Regions from separate parts of the Homo sapiens genome. Here region 2 is linked to region 1. The links are contacts of gene promoters, found by promoter capture Hi-C in blood cells and fetal thymus (Javierre and others, 2016). All regions are on one chromosome and are shown on one strand. Each heading gives the region's core, a stretch centred on a gene start or on the middle of the fragment in contact. The rest is flanking DNA. Distances are from core to core; before and after follow the strand shown. Region 1 holds the start of PTPN21 (protein tyrosine phosphatase non-receptor type 21). Region 2 overlaps TTC8 (tetratricopeptide repeat domain 8).

The links. Contacts are between HindIII fragments. The CHiCAGO score rates a contact against its expected background, and 5 or more counts as called.
Region 2: a fragment that was not itself captured here is called in contact with the fragment with the promoter of PTPN21 in region 1 in 1 of 17 cell types (naive CD8 T cells); the score reaches 5.3 in naive CD8 T cells.

The regions. Positions count from the first base shown.
Region 1 is chr14:88,552,918-88,556,845 of GRCh38, reverse strand. PTPN21 (protein tyrosine phosphatase non-receptor type 21) reads left to right here and starts at 1,839. Exons shown (of 19, transcript NM_007039.4): 1 at 1,839-2,195. It overlaps LOC124903405 (proline-rich protein 2-like), which reads left to right and starts at 56. Exons shown (of 2, transcript XM_047432047.1): 1 at 56-83; 2 at 1,786-2,189. The coding sequence starts at 56. The coding sequence ends at 2,150. RefSeq lists a silencer at 1,832-1,881. The HindIII fragment of the contact is 3,064 bases long and covers 950-3,928 here.
Region 2 is chr14:88,867,999-88,871,926 of GRCh38, reverse strand. TTC8 (tetratricopeptide repeat domain 8) reads right to left here. Exons shown (of 15, transcript NM_144596.4): 11 at 1,729-1,868; 12 at 204-378. Among named protein-coding and RNA genes, the nearest start is that of TTC8, 45 kb to the right of the region's middle. The HindIII fragment of the contact is 1,878 bases long and covers 707-2,584 here.

The DNA of each region.
Region 1 (3,928 bases), core at 590-3,089:
CTACTCTTTGCCCAGTACTGTCCTAGGAATCCTAGGAGATATAAAAGAAGCCGTCATGAAACAACTTTTACAGTTCTTGCCAAGTGTGGAGATCACTGTGGAATGGTGTGGCTAGAAAGTCATCCTGGAAGCAGAGTCTTACTTGCAGAGAAGCAGAAGGCTTAGACAAGTGGAAAGAGGGCAGGAGGGGCTGCTGGCCAGGGGCAAAGCTTGACAGGGGCAGAAAGCGATATAGGTGGTCAGAGAGGCCCGTTTGGAAAGTCCCTATAGGTCAGGCAGAAGAACTTAACCTTGGGAGTCCATTAAGAGTGATAAGAGAAGGAAGCCTGGTATTAGCAAGGAAATAAGAGAGAACTGAGAAACCAGATGCCAGGAGACCACCCTTGTTGCAATAATCCGGATGTAAAATGATGAGGGTTTGGATTTAGAATGTTCCAGGGGGAACAGAAAGGAAACAAAGAATTCATGAGACATTTCAAAGGAGGAAATACCAGGTCTTGATGACAGGCTGGAGATGATAATGGGAGAAGTCACACATGATTCCAGTTTTTCTACCTTGGGAAGCCAGCAAAGTGACTTCTTTTTAGATCTCTTTTCTTTGCTCACACACAAATTGACCCCCTCATAGAGTTCAGTTGAAATATCAATTACAAACAGAATTGATCTATTTTTTTTCCCTTAGAAACACAGGTAATCTTATTTGCCTTTAGCTAAACGACCCAAGATGCACCTTGCTGGGCTTTGCTCTTGGATAGCACTCATACCTCTATGACAATGCTCCCCACTTTGGCCTTGTACTGCGTGTGTGGTGTGCAGGTGCGTTTATCACCCACTAAACCAAAAGTCCGTGTTGTGCAGGGACCACGTCTCATGCAGAGTTAAGTATTCAAAAGTTTTTGTTAATTGTTTAAGAAAATGAGATTTACATGAAACAATACTTTAAAAAGCTTTCCAGAAACAACAGCATTAAAACAAAATCACTGAAATTAAAATTTACATAAATTAAAAGGTTCTGTGTTCCACATGCCAAGAAAAGATCTTACACTATTGTAATAGTGGTAGGGTCACACAGTTTTATTCCTCAGCTTAAGTGCTGCAATACAGTAATAATGCAGTACAAGAATACTGTATAATAAACCTTAAACGAAACACTTCATATATACTTTACACAAGTTATTGGATATTGCTTAGTATTTATTTCCCCCACCCCTGCTGTGCAAAGATATTAATATCCCTCTTTTATAGGAGAGGAAACAGGTAAAGAGAAGTTAAGAAACTTGCACAAGGTCATCCAGCTAGTAAATGTTGGAGCTGGGATTTGACAACTTTGTCAAGTCTCCATCCTTAACAGTTCTGCTCTATATTGCATAAGCAGACAGCTCCCTTTTGGGGACTGACAGGTTATTTGAGGCATATGAACCATTTTTGGTGGGGGGGCTTTCCCACCCAGTACTGGAAGTGTCTAGTTATATGGGGCATAACCTTAGGAGCAAGCAGGAAAAGAAGAAATGTATTCCAATAGTGTTCAGAAATATACCAGAGTAAACGAATAACCATCAATAACAGCATTTTACAGCCTACCTAATAACACAGGAATAAAACCCTTTATCTGGAACCTAAATAATACCCCCTCCACTCATTTTATTAAAAGCCTTGCTTTATTTGGAAACTCTTAAAATAAGTGGTCATACGATTAAAAAAAGCAGCGGCGCGCCCCCTCCCCGGCGGCCGGGCGCAGCTGTCCGCGCCTCCCCCGCGCGGCTGCCCGCATTCCAACTCTCTGAGGTCACGGGCCGCCGCCGCCTCCCCGGATCCGCCCGCCCGGCTCAGGGGGAGGGACGCCTGGGCCCGGCCGCCCCGCTGCTCCGGCCGCGCGTCCCGCGTCGGTCCGACGGTCTGTCCGTCCTCCTGCCACCCCCCGCCCCCACGGGGCTTCTTTGTGCGGCGCTCCTCGCCGGCCGGTCCCACCTCCAGGCCTCGCCCCTCGCCGTCGCCACCGCCGGACTCTGCCCAGGGGAATGGTCTGCGAGCCGGGTTTTTGGAGACAGGAAGTGAGGCGTGCGAGCCCCATGAGCGCGCCGCGGCCCGGGCTGGCGTGCGGGTGCGGCTGCGGCGGCCGCGCGGCGGGGCCCCGGGAGGCGGGTCGCTGAGCGGGGCGCGCGGCCCCGAGGATGCGGGAGCGGGAGCGGGAGCAGGTGAGGGCGCGGTCCCCGGCCGGCGGGAGGGGCGGGCGGCTGGCCCGAGCGGTGGGGTGTGTCCACTCGCCCGGACCCCGGAGCGCGCCCGCGGCCCCGGAATCCCGGAGAATGGGGCGCGGCGGCCAGACCCGTAGCGGGAGCGTAACAAAGAGAAAAGTCTTGTTTTTCAGGTTCGCTCTCATATACTTGAGTAATTTCTAAAAGGAGTCTTGAACTTCTATTCCGAACGCCCTGGCCGATTGTTGCGGGTTAATTCTGGATCAGGGTTTTAAATGTGTTAGGCATATTTGTGCCTCTCAGAATATATAAACGTGAAATTCGCCAGATAACTTTGGCGAGAAGGGGCGCAGGGAAGGACTGTTTGGTAACGCCTGGGTTTGTTTTTGGAGTAGAGTATTTACTCTGGAAACAAGAATTCTTGGATCTGCAAATTCCGACTTGTGATTTCTGCAAATCCTGATTAGATTGGCCGCTCTTGGCATGCTCGTCCTATTTTCTTTTTTGCTGAGAAAGCCTTATACTAATAGCGTATGCTCACAAACACATTCAGAACATTCGTGTGCTCCAAGTGACAACTGCTGTATGCCTAATAGTTGCTGACAGTTTATTTATTTTTTTAAGTTTGGGACACGACAGTAATTTTACTCTGAATATAGTCCGTTTCGTTTCTAGGGCATTTTATTCTGGAGCATCTACGCACAGATGTTTTCTCCGTGAGAAACATGGGTTTAATGCTATAGCTATAGATATTACTCTAAAAATGTCACATACTCTCTCCTTTTAGTGCTTATTTTATTTTAAAGCAACTTTGGCAAAATTACATGTGGTAAGGACCTTAATAGGAAAGGGGAAACGCTGTAAGATTGAGAGGTAAAGTGTATTTGAGGAACTTTTGGAAAGGGTTGTAGAGAGGGAAAATTAAAATGAATTCACAAATAGTTCAGACTGCCTTTTGTAAACTTGTACTGAAGCAGAATCTAGTATGTATCTGTTTACTTACCACAAAACGGAAAGATTTTGTAGAGAAAAAATTATATCCTAGTTTTCCTTTAATAGCTATTTATAAATTATGTTTACTTTAGTAAATTATAATTCCAGACCCAATCACTTTCATATTATTGCATATTATTTTATACCTGAAACAGACCTCCCCAAAGAACTCTTAAATTTCTACTCATCTTGGTTTTATTATCTTCAGACATTCATAATTGTATTACACCATTTGGCAACAAATACTGCATATTACTGAAAATTAAGATGTATAAATCATTGATAAATTTGTAAATTATTAAACAAAATCATTGTTTTAACATAGTGGGTTTTATATAAATAAGCAAAAAGCAAGCCATTCTTATGGATAGATCTTGGGGGGATGCACCATGTACACACACACTGCAACTTTTTCAATTTCATCTACCAAAATAAGAGATAATTTTGACTTTTCCTTTATCCCTGATGCAGTAATACATTTCAAGTCTGAGGGACAATTGAAAGTTTTACTGAGTTTGCTTAATCAGAGCTTAAGTTAATAATTAAGTTATACAGTGTAGTATCTATTGCTTTCAAGGCATAGTTCTATGTAGTGAAAAGACTACCATATTTGAATGGCACCTAATACAAATATTTATCTTTCCTCTACACATATGCAATATCTTGTCTGTTCATCTACACTACTTAATCCGCCCGGTTTCCAGTTACCATAATTTTTATGTAAAATTGAAACCCACCAT
Region 2 (3,928 bases), core at 396-2,895, 320 kb before region 1:
ATGTGCACTACCACACCCAGCTAATTTTTAAATTTTTTGTAGAGACAGAGTCCCACTATGTTGCCCAGGGTGGTCTCAAACTCCTGGGCTCAAGCAATCCTCCTGCTTCAGCCTCCCAAAATGCTGGAATTATAGGCATGAGCCACTGTGTCTGGCTCAAACCAACTTTCTATAACAGAAATTATATCAGTAAGACAACATACCACAGCTACATGTCCCAAGTTGTACCAGACATCAGCTGCCTCTTCTTCATTTTCAGCCAAAGAAAGGGCACGTTCAAATGAGGTCAGAGTCATATCATACTGCTGGGCATAGAAGCAACACAGCCCCAGATTGTTAAAAAGCTGGCCGTTATAAATGCCCATCTGCAGCAGCCGCCTTTTCAAAAAAGAACACACAAATTTTGGTGTCAGACCAACTTTGTAAGTTTTAAGACATATATATATATATTTTACACAGTTAAAAATGAATTCATCTTGTGATTTTTGATACTCCTTAAGAATATAAATACGTGTTATAGTAAATGAAAAAATGTTTAAAGCAAATACAAACACCTCTCTTTCATAATGGTACTAGTCATGGGGAATGTGTCTAGAGACAAAGACAAACAACTGATCTAAGTTTTCTCCCCAAATGCTTTGTTAGAGAACCAAAATAAGAAATAGTCACAAAAAGTAACGCCCACACACTTCAGCTTTATAAAGCTTTGCTGCCCATAGGGTAAATTCCTAAAACCTAATCTAATTTGAGGACTGCGTTTAGCATTAACCTCTACGTTTTCAGCTGACTGGATCCCGTTTTTGGCTCGCTGTACTTTGTGCTTCAGCTGTGTCTACTGAACTCCAATGAGCTTCCACTGAGGAAGACAAGACCATCAGCGGATCCTTACATTATCCACTTAGCTCTCACACTGCAGCTCAAGAGCCCCATTTGCTTCTATGCATAATTAATCCCATGGGACAAAGGACAAGCGAGTTCATATGAGCAAATGAAAATCCAGCCCAGCTGCCGTGAGAAACCCATGACCCACTTTGGGGGTTGGGGAGTAGAGTCAGCTGCAGGTGCACAGAATAGTGTTCTTATTATTACATTTTATGCCTCCAACACATATTTGGAAAGAACCCTTGTCAGCTGCCAGTCATCTCTTTCTATATTACCCAAGGGCTAAGGAGGAAATCATAATTTAAAAATTAATTTCAGAAGTCATATGTAGGATGAAATAAGTACTTAAAAGAGAATCAGTGAATATAATTTATTTAGACTGAAAAAATATTGGGACAAGAACCAACAATGCTGCACAAAACAGGTGATTCTGTTTCAGGTCCTCATCAAGGTTCAGAACATGAGGCCAAATGCTCTTTGCAAATCTTTTCACCTTTCAATTTCAGTGTCTTTATGTTTAATGGTATTAACGGAGGCAATGATGATGATAAGTTTTAAGTAACTATTCAACTTATTGGTTGATGACAAAATGGCTAACACATACAATGACAATGAGGTTTAAAACTCAGTCAGTTGTCCAGTGTGTTTCTGCAAGATGCCAGACATCTGCATGTTTCCAAATTATTGGATGTCACTTCAATGCTCATTATATATCTCAGTGTTGACATTTGAGTTTCATAAAGACATGGCCTATACCTTATTTCTCTATACTTTCATTCCATCTTTCTTATTATTTTATCAATATTTCACAGGAAAGTGGTTCTAAGAATTGGATGTGAAGTGCACCTGTAAAACCGGAGAGCTATTTCTGGCTGATCAGAATAGAAGTGGTTGCTTCCAATGCATGCGATGGCTTCCACATGAGTATTGTCTTGTTTCAAAACTTCTTTGTAATATTCTGCTGCTGATGACATATTGTTCATTTCCTATTCTCCATCAAGAGAGAAGAGCAATATTTTATTAATATTGGACAAAAAATTATTTTTTTCTGACTGATTTAAGTCCATTCATTCAATAAGTATTTATTGAGAGGCTACCATGTGCCAGACTCCATTCTAGACCCTGGGGATACAATATGAACAAAAAGAGAAAGTCACTGTCCTCAGGGAGGTGACATCTGGTATGAAAGGCAAACAAATATGTAATATAAGAGAAGGTTAAGTGCTGTGAAGAGAAACAGAGAAGGAGAGAGAGAGCAGGGAGAGTGTGCTTCAGAAGGGGTGGCGGAAGGGGCCACTTTGGAGGAGGTGCTATTTGAAAAGACCTGAGTGAAGTGAAGGATCAAGCCCTGAGCATATCTGGGGGAAGCTCACTCTGGGCAGAGGGAAGAGCAAATGTATGAGCCTGAGAGGGGAACGTGCTTGTCACATATGAAGAACCACACGAAGGTAAATGAGGCTGGGAAGAGGGAAAGTGGCACAAAAGGAGATGAGAGGCAGCCAGGGCCTTTGTAAGCCACGGTGAGAACTTCAGATTTTTTTTTTTCTAGTTGAGAGAAATCCATTAGGAGAGGAATAACAATCATATTTGCATTTTGAAAGAATAACTTGACTGCTGCATGCTAGACATACCAAAATAGGAAAGAGTGGTAGCAGGAAGATCAAAAGTCCAGGAAAGAAAAGACAGCAACCAAGACCAAGCTTAGAAATACATACAAAATGAAAAACTAAATAAACCTTCTACAGTTATTATATATTCTTTCTAAAATACTGATAATCATAAATGTATGCATCTAATGTTATCAATGAATGTTATATTTCTCAAGTCCACCTTCAAGGCCCTGTTCAGGCTCCACATCCTTCATGAAGATTTCCCTAATGCCTTCACTTCACATAGCTGTCTTCTACCTCTCAACTTACATGGTGTTTATTATGTGAACTTGTTCTCATTAGAGAAGGACTCATACTTTTCATTAAATTTTAATCATATCAAATATAAGAGACTCTACTGATTGTTAAGAAGCACCATGCAGTGCTTTTTTTAAACAGAATTTTTATTTGATCCTCACTGATATTTAGACATACTCATACACAGATTGCATCACAGATCACTCTTTTGCATACTTTGTGGTAAGAACATTTAAAATCCACTTTTAATATTTCTTAAAAGTGCTCCACTATTGTCTCCAAGATTTTCTTCCAACCTATGGACAGTCATTCTGCTATGCTGATACCTGTGTTTTCTTGATTTTCTTGATCTTACCAGCAGGTGTCAACAAAAGCTTTCAGGCTACAACCAGTAATAATTACCAGGTTCACCATGCTCCCAAGAGTAATTACCCAAGTTTCCATATAAACAGACTATGACAACTACATGGCAACTGCCACTTGGCCATAAAAAGATGCTATCCATTTTAAGATGTATCTCAAGTTCAGAGATGTTAAAATGTGAAAAAAAATGTGTTTTTAGAGTCCATGAAATATGGTAAATTCCTTTAAAGCAAGATCATATGTGCCATTTCTTAGCACAAAATTTAGTGTTCTAGAAACTGAAAAATTAATAAACAAGAATTAAACAACTCTAAAAAATGTTCTTAGCTTCCCATGTTTCCATTAGAACAGAGGTTCTCAAACGTTTTGGTCTAAGATTCCTTTTAAACTGTTAAAAATTGCTGAGAAGAAGTTTTGTTTATGTAAGTTATATAGATTAATATTAGAAATTGCAACTGAGCTATCTTTAAACATTTACTTATTAATTCATTCTAAATAACACAAAATAAACCTATTACATGTTCACATACATAACATTTTTATGAAAAATAATAAGCTCTTCTGAGTGGAGAAAGTCTGTAGGTTGGTACAACTATGTTTGTGACAGGGTAGATTAGTCTGTTTAACCCAGAGCGAGAAGGTTGTTAAGTCCTTTTGAGCATAGGTCTAAAGCCAAAAGCTCCACTTCTGCTTTTATCTGTAATCAAGCTAATGGTCTGACCTCTATTTGTCGAAATCTTGTATCTCTCTCTCAGTTGGTTCTCAACATGGAGAAC